Linked DNA regions of Homo sapiens: region 1 is linked to region 2. Evidence: promoter capture Hi-C in 16 types of primary human blood cells and fetal thymus (Javierre and others, 2016). All regions are on one chromosome and are shown on one strand. The core of a region is centred on a gene start or on the middle of the fragment in contact, and the rest is flanking DNA. Distances in the headings are between cores, read along the strand shown.

Region 1 (5,337 bases), core at 2,215-4,714, 1.1 Mb before region 2:
TCCTTTAAGCACTTCTCTGTATTGGTTATTCTAGTTATACATTCTTCTAAATTTTTTTCAAAGTTTTCAACTTCTTTGCCTTTGGCTTGAATATCCTCCCGTAGCTCAGAGTAATTTGATCGTCTGAAGCCTTCTTCTCTCAGCTCGTCAAAGTCATTCTCCATCCAGCTTTGTTCCGTTGCTGGTGAGGAACTGCGTTCCTTTGGAGGAGGACAGGTGCTCTGCTTTTTAGAGTTTCCAGTTTTTCTGTTCTGTTTTTTCCCCATCTTTGTGGTTTTATCTACTTTTGGTCTTTGATGATGGTGATGTACAGGTGGGTTTTTGGTGTGGATGTCCTTTCTGTTTGTTAGTTTTCCTTCTAACAGACAGGACCCTCAGCTGCAAGTCTGTTGGAATACCCTGCTGTGTGAGGTGTCAGTATGCCCCTGCTGGGGGGTGCCTCCCAGTTAGGCTGCTCGGGGTTCAGGGGTCAGGGACCCACTTGAGGAGGCAGTCTACCCGTTCTCAGATCTCCAGCTGCGTGCTGGGAGAACCACTGCTCTCTTCAAAGCTGTCAGACAGGAACATTTAAGTCTGCAGAGGTTTCTCCTTCCTTTTGTTTGGCTATGCCCTGCCCTCAGAGGTGGAGTCAGGCAGGCCTCCTTGAGCTGCGGTGGGCTCCACCCAGTTTGAGCTTCCACGCCACTTTGTTTACCTACTCAAGCCTTGGCAGTGGCGGGCACCCCTCCCCCAGCCTCACTGCCGCCTTGCAGTTTGATCTCAGACAGCTGTGCTAGCAATGAGCGAGGCTCCGTGGGTGTAGGACCCTCCAAGCCAAGCGCGGGATATAATCTCCTGGTGTGCCATTTGCTAAGACCATTGGAAAAGCACAGTATTAGGGTGGAAGTGACCCGATTTTCCAGGTGCTGTCTGTCACCCCTTTCTTTGACTAGGAAAGGGAATTCCCTGACCCCTTGCGCTTCCTGGGTGAGGCAGTGCCTTGCCCTGCTTTGGCTCACGCTCGGTGCGCTGCACCCACTGTCCTGCACCCACTTTCTGACACTCCCCAATGAGATGAACCCGGTACCTCAGTTGGAAATGCAGAAATCACCCATCTTCTGCATTGGTCACGCTGGGAGCTGTAGACTGGAGCTGTTCCTATTCGGCCATCTTCAAAAAGTTACCGTATTCTAACATTTTGCTATCATTAATATAAATCAGTAAACATTAGTTGAGCTATGCCCACAATCTTGTGAAAGACAATATTATAAATGTAAAAAAGTTAGGACTTGTGTCCTTTTGATATCAGTATGTACATTAGTAGAAAAATTATTTTCTTGTTTGCATTTACTGTCTACCTATGGTTTCCTAGTACATGCTAGTGTAAAAAGAGGGCTATCAAACAAACAAAAAGGATTGAGTGTGTTAGTTAGAAAAACATTATTTTCATTACTTATTCTGTTAAAACATATTATAATGTCTACTATATTAAAATACACTATAAAACATTCACTTAAAATCGCTTTTATGATGCTTTTAACTGTAAATTGAACTTCAGAGAAGTTTCTCGAGACATAAATCCTCAAAAATTTCTAAAATTATAACTGAATCATATGTATTAACTACTAAAATTTTAAATCAAAATGATTTTCCACAGTGGTCACTATTATATATAGTTACTTGATCAATGTTCGAAAACCATCTGAAATAAACACAAAAGAACTATTTATATAAACCATGTCATCTGAAGTTCAGCAGTGGTTGCAATAACACTTCAGCACAGAATTAGTTCTCTGGATTAATTTTACAGAGGTCCTGGTTGTTACTTGGTTTGTATTTTTATTTTCTTTTATTTTATTACTTTTCTGTTTTCCTAGTGATTCTGTGAGGTATCCATCATCTTTTCAATAATTTTTCTTTGCTTAAAATATCTAGAATTATTTTTTGTTGCTTGAAAGTAAGAATTCTGATTGAAATAGCAGTTAAAGAGGTATGGTGGATATTTCATGTAATAAATATTGAGCTTTTCTTATTTACAAAGATGAACTACATTGTTTTGTACTTTCATAAATGAAGGTGAAGTGGTAGTTAACACCTTGATGCTGGAATTATACTTCCTGGGTTCAAATTTTGGTTTCACTACTTGCTGTGTGTGAAGCCTTTATCAAGTTGTTTTTATGTCTTTGTGCATCTATTTCCTCCTCCGGAAAATAGTCATAAACTTAGCATGTATCTCATGTTAATTGCATTTATTAAATGATGTAACATGAATAATACTAATCATAGTGCCTGATATATGGTACTTTGTAAATATTATCTGTCCCCATTAATAGGAAGTATAATGTATAATGGAAAAGTAGGCATTGAGCCTCACTTCAATACAGTTGTGGTCAGTTATTTCAAAGAAAGAAACTTTCTGGGTGCTACAGTAGAAGCCTGTTACAGTGGAGCCTGACAGCCTAACATAATATTGAAGGTTGGGTAAGGTCATTTTAAGTAAACCTAAGTAGGTTGAACAAGAAAGAAAAATAGGAATCACCTAAGCAAAGAAGGATGAAAAGATTATTTTAGGCAGTGAAAACTACACACATGCAGAGGTTCTGTACTAAGAGAGAAAGCATGTTGAGTTTTAGGAGCAAAGAGAGGAACAATTAAGCTTTGGATAAAAACTTAGGTACTTTTCGTTATTTAATGACAATCTGCTCAACTGTCAATTTGAAGCTTCATCCATCAGTATAAAGGTATATTAAATATGTGTTATGATTGCTTCTCTGACCCAACTGGTCTTCCCAACTGCCCTCCCTTAGATAATCCCAGATTTATTCAAATATTCCAATATTTTGTGAAAAAGCTGACACCTGGGAGGTTCCAGTGGTCAAGAACTCCTGCAGTTACTGAGCAGCATTTTTTCCCTCGTAGGATTATAACTTCAAGTCAGAAAATTCATTTGTTCTCCTCTTTCTTCTGTCTTTTTGTTGGTGGAGAGGAAGTACAATCTTTCTTTTTCCAATTCAAAGACACTGCATTTTCTTACTTCTATTCTCTGTTTAGCATTAACTTTTCTCTTTTTTTATTTTTTATTTTATTTTATTATTATTATACTTTAAGTTTTAGGGTACATGTGCACAATGTGCAGGTTAGTTACATATGTATACATGTGCCATGCTGGTGTGCTGCACCCATTAACTCGTCATTTAGCATTAGGTGTATCTCCTAAAGCTAACTTTTCAAAGGACATATATTTTCTCAAAATACCAGAAGATACCTTGTCTTTCTGTTCTCAATGAATTCTGAAAGTCAATGAGCTACTAAGGATCTGGCTGCTTATTTGGAAACAAAATAATGGAGGATGACATTGGCCGCATAGTCAGGAGAAATAGGACGCTAAAGGCATTCAGTTCTGCCAGCTTGGGACCTGGCAAAACAGTTCTGGAGAAACTTGGAAACCTCAATACAACAGTCGTTGCTAAGCAATAACAAGGCACTGATCAGATCGTCAAGCAACTGACCAAAGAGGAAAAATTTCATAAACAAGTCATTTAAATATGTGGGAAATCATGTAAGAAGGTTTGTGGAAAGTATTAGTGCATCAAACTAGTTTTAAAAAGTTTTACATAACAGAATAATCTGCTCAGTCAGATTAAGTGACAATCACTGTTTGGTCTTGTGAGAAAAGATCAAATGTTATTCATCTCTGCTTTTGGGGAATTAATTGTATAAAGAAGGGCACAATAACTTAAAGTAGAATGATGGCAGTATAATATGGCTGCTATGGTTTGAATGTCCCTCAAGATTCATGTGTTGGAAACTTAAACCCCAATGCAACAGTATTGGGAGGTAGGACCTTTAAGAGGCGATTATGTCACATGGGCCCTGCCCTCATGAATGAATTAGTGCTGCTATCGTGGGAGTGGGTTTGTTATAAAAGCAGATTCAACTCTCCATTTCTAATTCTCTCTCTTCTCTCTTTCTCATGCACATACACTCTTGCCCTTCTGCCTTCTGCCATGAGATGACCCAGTGACAAGGCCTTCACCAGAAGCAGGTCACTTGACCTTGGACTTTCTAGCCTCCAGAGCTGTGAGCCAAATAAAGTTCTATAGTTTATAAATTACCCAGTCTCTGATATCCTGTTATAGTAGCACAAAACAGTACCAGGAAGATTGATATTGGGAGTAGAGTTGTTGCTACAACAAATACCTGAAAATATGGAAGTGGTTTTTGAACTGGGTAATAGATAGAAGCTTGAAGAATTTGGAGAAGCAAGGTAGAAAAAGCCCAGATTGCTGTGAATGGAGCATTAAGCATATTAATTATTTTTATTAGGAAAAAAATGAGAGTCTGAAATCAATTCTATAAGCTTCTGCCTTACAAATCTAGAAAAAGATGGGAAAAGCATATTCAAAAAATAGAAGGAAGAAAATAATAGAAATGAGCCGAACTCAATAAGATAGAAAATGAACAGAAAAAGGAAAAAAAACAAAACCAAAAATGTGCTACTTTGAAAAAAAATCATAGTGTGATACATTTCTTTATACACTATTCAGTCAAGAAAGATAAAAATACAAACACAGAATCAAGACTGAGATTAAGATGGCAAATAGGAGGCTAGTCAGAGACAGGGCAGCATGTAGAGACTCACATCATTAACTTTTCTCCAAGAATTACTGCAGGAACATGCCAGGTAAGCTGAGATAATCCACAGACCCTTTGAAGGAACTGGATTGCTTCTGCAGGCTCCTTGAGATGCCAAAAAACTCTGAATCAGCTTGCTTTCTCAGTGGGGTGGCTGACGGTCTGGGGCAAGTTCTCAGAACTGGTCACCAGCTGCCTGGAAACACTTGGTGTGGTAGGTGGGGCATGATGGAAGTGAGACCAGCATTTAGGACTGTGGCTACATGGGAATGGGGTGAGGCCTGTGACTGCTGTCTTTGTCCCACTTCTCTGGTGACCTGTATGACTCAGCAGAGGCAGCCACAATCCACCAGGGAACATAACTCCATTGGACTGGGAATCACACCCCTATTCCCCACAGCAGCTGCAGCAAGCTCCACCCAAGGAGAGTCTGAGCTCAGACATACCTATGTCTGCCCCCACCTGGTGGTCTTTCTCTACCCGTTCTGGTTGCCAAAGACAAAGGACATAATATCCTGAGAGCTCTATGGCGCTGCCCACCACCTGAGAAACCTGAATACGTAACCAGACAACCCCAGGGCAAGTATACATCCTCCTTCTAGTACTGTAGTTGATGTGCTCTTGAACATGCCACCTCCTGGCTGCAGGCCAACCAACACAAAACCAGTGCACTAAACAAAAATACAACTAAGGACCCTCACAGACTCCACTTAACTCCCCTGC
Region 2 (6,224 bases), core at 1,076-3,575:
TATGCATAATTTGGTTTATTTTCCTCTGCATTTAATGTCCCTGTGGACCACAGGTTACTTGGATTAGTAACTAAAACCCTCTGGGATTACACACTCCTGCCCTCTAATTTTTATAGATAGGGAGAGAGGGTGGTTTCTTTTTTGCTCTGTCTTTGGCTGCAGAGAGACATAAATCATACAAATAATCTCACAGCTCAATTCTACCTTACTATAAAGTCCATGGCTCCAGAACTGTAGTCTATCCTTCCTCATCTAGCAAAGACAGAGAAGGTTCCTCTTTCCACGTAAAGCTGGTAAGAAGGGAGATAGATATATTTATCGTGTTGACTTTTACTTTGTTACCTATTCACAAATAGTCATATGGGTTTATAGAAAAGTCAGATATCATGAGGGTTTGCCCTGTCCTCATCGATCCACATAACATGTAGATATACAACCTCTAATAATTCATACTTAAATATTTTCATAATGTTTCTCAGATTGAATTGAAAATCAGACAACTGGAGATTTAAAATAAACCACAGAATACTAGCATAAAGGGAACAGTAACTTGTATCCTTGCTACAGAATATTTACTCTCATGAATTTGACACATCTAATTTTTTAAAGACTTGATTGAAAAATACTAACATTATACTCATGAATACTGCTATTATTTAATTTAATTCTCCCCAGAATTGATTTGAACAATATAAATATATTAATTGACAAAATTATTCTTGGAATTTTACTTGAAAGAGGCGATATAGCATTTCTGTTTACTGAGCCAATTGCCCTTCTCATTCGCTGTCTCCTGAAAACGTCTACTGTATCCGGAAGCCAGCAGCCATCACTTTACACTTTTGAACAGCAGTAAATTACCCCCAAATACTTCACAGAGAAAAAGGTAACAATTTCCTTATATAACTCTCCACAAACTTACATATTTGACACTTACTAGTGTCAGTGCAAATGATGGTCCTCATTTTTTTGAAGGTTACTCATGCTCTACACTTAATCACCCACTACTTTCTTAAGGACTTTTATAGATCAATAAATCCTTCACATTCTATATTTTAAATTTCTCATTATCTGCTACATTTTTAACCTCCGTTTATAAACATATCAATTTCTCGAATTCTGTCCCATCTTGCAAAAATTCTCCATCTACCTGATACCCCTTCTTTAGACATGGCCTACTTCTCCCCTTGCCTTCACTGCCAAGTTTCTTAAAATAAACCGTACCTCCACTGCTAATACTTTCATCATTACCACACTGTAGCAGGTTCTCAATTTTCCACTGTTTTTTCTGGGATCGCTAATGGCTCTCAGCTGCATTTGAATTTTTTAATCCTTACTAGGCTTCACAGCGCAAGCAATTCGACACAGCTGCTCATGTAACATCCGGTCTTCACACCATGTTTTTTTTTTTTCTTCTTTTTTAGACGGAGTCTCTCACTGTCACCAGGCTGGAGTGCGGTGGTGCAATCTTGGCTCACTGCAACCTCTGCCTCCTGGGTTCAAGCGATTCTCCTGCCTCAGCCTCCCAAGTAGCTGGGACTACAGATACACGCCACCATGCCCAGCTAATTTTTGTATTTTTAGTAGAGACGGGGTTTCACCATGTTGGCCAGGATGATCTTGATCTCTTGACCTCGTGATCCGCCCACCTCTGCCTCCAAAGTGCTGGGATTACAGGCATGAGCCACCTGCCCAGCCTCTTTTGGTTTTCATAGTCCCCATAAAACCAGTCTCATCTTGCTTTAGTGTATATAGTGCATTCCAGTCTTCTGGAGAGTTCTGTCCTCATTGTTTTTCTCTTATAATTCTAGTCTCTGAAGTTGTTTACCTATAGTGTTGGATGAAAATGATAAATATACATTGATAACTTTATATTCCTGGCAAATATCTGGAGATCTGTGTCTGCAGACTCATACCCTTATGGTCACTGAAGAACCATGGATATTTTTAAGTGGCTATTATTCATTGTACTCACAAAATATTCAAAATTGAGGATACTTATTTTTTCTCAGCTAAGTCTTTATTCAAATAATCTTACAATATGATGCATCTTAATATATTCTGTAAATGGACACTATCATGAAAATGTATAAAATCATATGGACATATTTCCCTTGAATTTTATGGTACAAAAACATATTTTTGTGAACTATTTCTGATTATGAGTGGTAGATGAACATTATAATTTAATTTAAAGGTTTCTCAATGATGCAGATCTTATCTATGACCTTGGATAACTCTACTAACTAAAAGAAAATGTATCTAAATATTTTACATAACACTTAATGTATCACTTCTATAGGATGGAAGCATTGTGAGGACAAATGCTGCAAAACCAGGACACCATGGAAATCCTAAGCAACTCAACATCTAAATTTCCAACCTTCTTGTTGACCGGCATTCCTGGCCTAGAGTCTGCCCATGTCTGGATCTCCATTCCTTTCTGTTGTTTTTATGCCATTGCCCTCTCTGGGAACAGCGTGATCCTGTTTGTCATCATTACCCAGCAGAGTCTCCATGAACCCATGTATTATTTCCTCTTCAGGCTATCAGCCACTGATCTGGGCTTGACTGTTTCTTCATTGTCAACAACATTAGGTATCCTCTGGTTTGAGGCACGTGAAATCAGTCTATATAGCTGCATTGTCCAGATGTTTTTTCTTCATGGATTCACTTTTATGGAATCTGGAGTGCTGGTGGCTACAGCCTTTGACCGTTATGTGGCCATCTGTGACCCTCTGAGGTACACTACCATTCTCACTAATTCCAGAATCATTCAAATGGGTCTTCTGATGATTACACGTGCTATAGTACTAATATTGCCACTACTTTTGCTCCTTAAGCCTCTCTATTTCTGTAGAATGAATGCCCTTTCTCACTCCTATTGTTACCATCCAGATGTGATTCAATTAGCATGTTCAGACATTCGGGCAAATAGCATCTGTGGATTAATTGATCTCATCCTGACCACTGGAATAGATACACCATGCATTGTCCTGTCATATATCTTAATTATTCACTCTGTCCTCAGAATTGCCTCCCCTGAAGAATGGCACAAGGTCTTCAGCACCTGTGTCTCCCATGTGGGAGCAGTTGCTTTCTTCTACATCCACATGCTGAGCCTGTCCTTGGTGTATCGCTATGGTCGGTCAGCCCCCAGAGTAGTCCATTCAGTGATGGCTAATGTATACCTGCTTTTACCCCCTGTGCTCAACCCCATCATCGACAGTGTAAAAACAAAACAAATCCGCAAGGCTATGCTCAGTCTGCTGCTTACAAAATGAACAGACATAGTTTTATTTGATACAAACCTGGCATGAATGACTTGCACTGTAGAAAAGCGAACTTGCTCTCTTACTGCCTATTGCATGTGGGTTTTTAAAATATTTTTCATTCACCAAACAAATAGTAAATATGTTGTATATTTGGTCATAAAATATAAGTATGATATATCACCCAAGACATTTGTAGTGGAATTAGGAAAATAACAATAATGAAATGATAAATAATACTCCTGGCAATTAACATGTATTGACTCTTTGTTTCAGGCTAGGTGTTCTACTAACTGCTTTTAAGACATATTCCATTTATTCTTCCAAAACAGCGAAATGAAATATATATTACTATTAGCGATATATTACAGATGATGGAACAGATTTATAGACATTTAGGCCCCCAAAGGCCATGTGAATAACATGAGGCACAGTTGAGATTTGAACCCAGGTGTTCTGTATCTCAAATGCTATGCTCTTCATCACTGTATTACATACTCTGCCAAAGTCATGTAGCAGAAATGTTTTAAGATCAAAAGTAAGACCTGGATCTCCATGGTTCCATCCTTTGTCTTAAAAAGTTGTAGTAACCTTCTTAGAATATACTCTAGCTGTTTTCTTCATGGATAATTCATAATACAAAAGGTAGGAATAGATATGTCATGGCATGTGAGTCACTATCCAGTGTTGGACAGTCCAAAGAAAAGCTTTAGGGGTGAGGCACACTTGCTAATTTATCACAGGGAATGGGAACTTGAGAGAACTAGAAAAGAATGTAAAGTAAATTACAAGGAAGTTTGGGGCAGATGTTCTGAACCTTTTTCTGCATTGTGGTCCCTTAGAAAGCTAATGAAATTTATGGACCTTTCCCCATAGATAAACATACTCACATTATTTTCCATAGTTTTCACAGTTTTCACAAATGCCATTAAAGACCTATGTGACTCCTTAACCAGCTAAAGAACCAAGGTAAAGAATTCATAGTTCTTGCCTATACACAGTTTTACAGAGACAGACACAAAATGTTTGGTTTCTGAAAACGAACTTATGGTAACTCTTTGGATTTAAGAGACAGACAGAAGCTTAAAAATGTCAATTGCATATAATGGCAGAATAAAATCAGAGGGAAATGGAGATGGAAACCTAAAGGCAGTCACATCAATTTTATTGCCATTGGAAAAATAGTGATAGGTGGAAGAAATGTACCAGGTACCCCACAAATACTGAGGGCAGCAGTGTGCTGGAGAGAGCACACACCAGCTTGCAAGAGCCTATTTTTGCATATCTAACTATGCATTATATGATGTCATATTAGTAGCTTGAAATCACTGATAATGATAATTTTTATACCATGTGAACTGGTAAAAATTCTTTTAAATATTTATATAATAGCATTGTTCAATTTAATTTAATAGCATTGAGAACTTTTTCTGTTTTTAAATATTCAGTTTATCAGCACACAGTGACTGTAGGTATATTTTATGTTTGACCTCGTGGGAAACAACAAAAAATAAAAGATCAATAAAAAATATTACTGTGCACTCACGAAGGTTAAAATCTTGTGTGTGTAAAACATCAACATGAACAAAAAGTCATGAAATAATGGACTTATTGGGGTGATAATTCATAATATAAAAGTAAAATTTTACCCTTTATGTTGACTTCTGAGTTGAAAGAGTATCCAAAAGTGCATGCTGGATAGGACGATTTTGTAAGAAACTCTGTGGAAAAATGGAAGAAATATTATATGACAATTTTACTATTCATGGAAGAATTATCTTCTGAGTTTTAAGGTCTGTCTGTACATAGGCATGAAAATTATGAAACACAAACCCTTTTTTCTTCTATTTTCTCTCTTCTTCAGCTTTCCCCAGGTGAACATAGATTATAAAATTTGTGTTAGTAGCTTTAAAAACACCTTTTGATAAAACAATGCCATTATGTAAATGAATTTGTTTATCGATTTAGTTTACAAATTTGGCTACACTTTCTGACTTTTATATGTGAGAGTCTTTTTCTTGAGTAATTCTACATGCCTGCTAGCTGCTGGAACATCAGAAAGATAGATGTGGTAAAATAATGTAATATATACTAACATTATCACAATAAGCACTCATCGCAATATTCCGAACCGATAGCACAGCCACCAGCAGAAAATTTTTAAATTGTCAGAGTCACTGCAAAAAATGAATGTCATAGAGAAAGAGAGAGAGAAACCGTGGGAGGAAAGAAAAAAGGGAGAGAGAAAAAGGATGAAAAAAGGAAGGAAGGAAGGGAGGGAGGGAGGGAGGGAGGGAAAGGAAAGTGGGAGAGAAATTAAGGATGTAACTTAAATAAGTTTCCAAACAGCCCATTTGTTACACCAAGCAAGGATACCCATTTACTGATGTGAGTTAATTAAATCACTTTTTATTGTAGCAACAGAAAATCTATAGCCAGAAAGAATGAACTTATTTAAGACTATTTCTATCTAATTGTTAGAGTCAAAGAACTCCTCAAATACTGTACTCAACCCAAGCAGGTCTGTGATGTTACATCTGTATCCGGGGAAAAATGTAGTACCATGAAACACCGAGTAGAAGCACCTGGGTGAGTGACCCATGAAGACACTGATTATGCAAAAGTCCTTATAATCCTTGGGCTTGCAGAGGTGGCCCACACTTCTCTGGTAAGAACAATCATTTCCACCACTTCGCATAATTCTATCTCCTGGAGCTCTCTCCATCTCTTGTTCTCACCACCAGAATGAACACTGGCATTAAATTCCAGCATAAATCTGTTGGGAATGTGCTGGGCCTAGTAAGATAAGAAAGAGACTATAACCCGAAGAATAGCAAAAATTAGCAAGCATTTTATGGCAAAAATCCATGAAATGCCCTCTGGATTGAATAGTGAGAATGGTTGATCAAGGAGGTCTGAATAGAAGACTATATTAGCAAGAATGCATCAATG

Evidence for each region. The method cuts DNA at HindIII sites, captures the fragments that hold promoters and counts their contacts. A CHiCAGO score of 5 or more calls a contact.
Region 1: a fragment that was not itself captured here is called in contact with the fragment with the promoter of OR51F1 in region 2 in 1 of 17 cell types (M0 macrophages); the score reaches 5.1 in M0 macrophages.

What each region holds. Positions count from the first base shown.
Region 1 is chr11:5,910,309-5,915,645 of GRCh38, reverse strand. The region is part of intron 2 of LOC112268071 (a long non-coding RNA gene); the gene reads left to right. Among named protein-coding and RNA genes, the nearest start is that of OR52E5, 20 kb to the right of the region's middle. The HindIII fragment of the contact is 1,523 bases long and covers 2,703-4,225 here.
Region 2 is chr11:4,766,039-4,772,262 of GRCh38, reverse strand. It overlaps OR51F1 (olfactory receptor family 51 subfamily F member 1), which reads left to right and starts at 2,325. Exons shown (of 1, transcript NM_001004752.2): 1 at 2,325-3,284. The coding sequence starts at 2,325. The coding sequence ends at 3,284. It overlaps MMP26 (matrix metallopeptidase 26), which reads right to left. Exons shown (of 8, transcript NM_021801.5): 2 at 4,922-4,993. The HindIII fragment of the contact is 5,192 bases long and covers 1-3,981 here.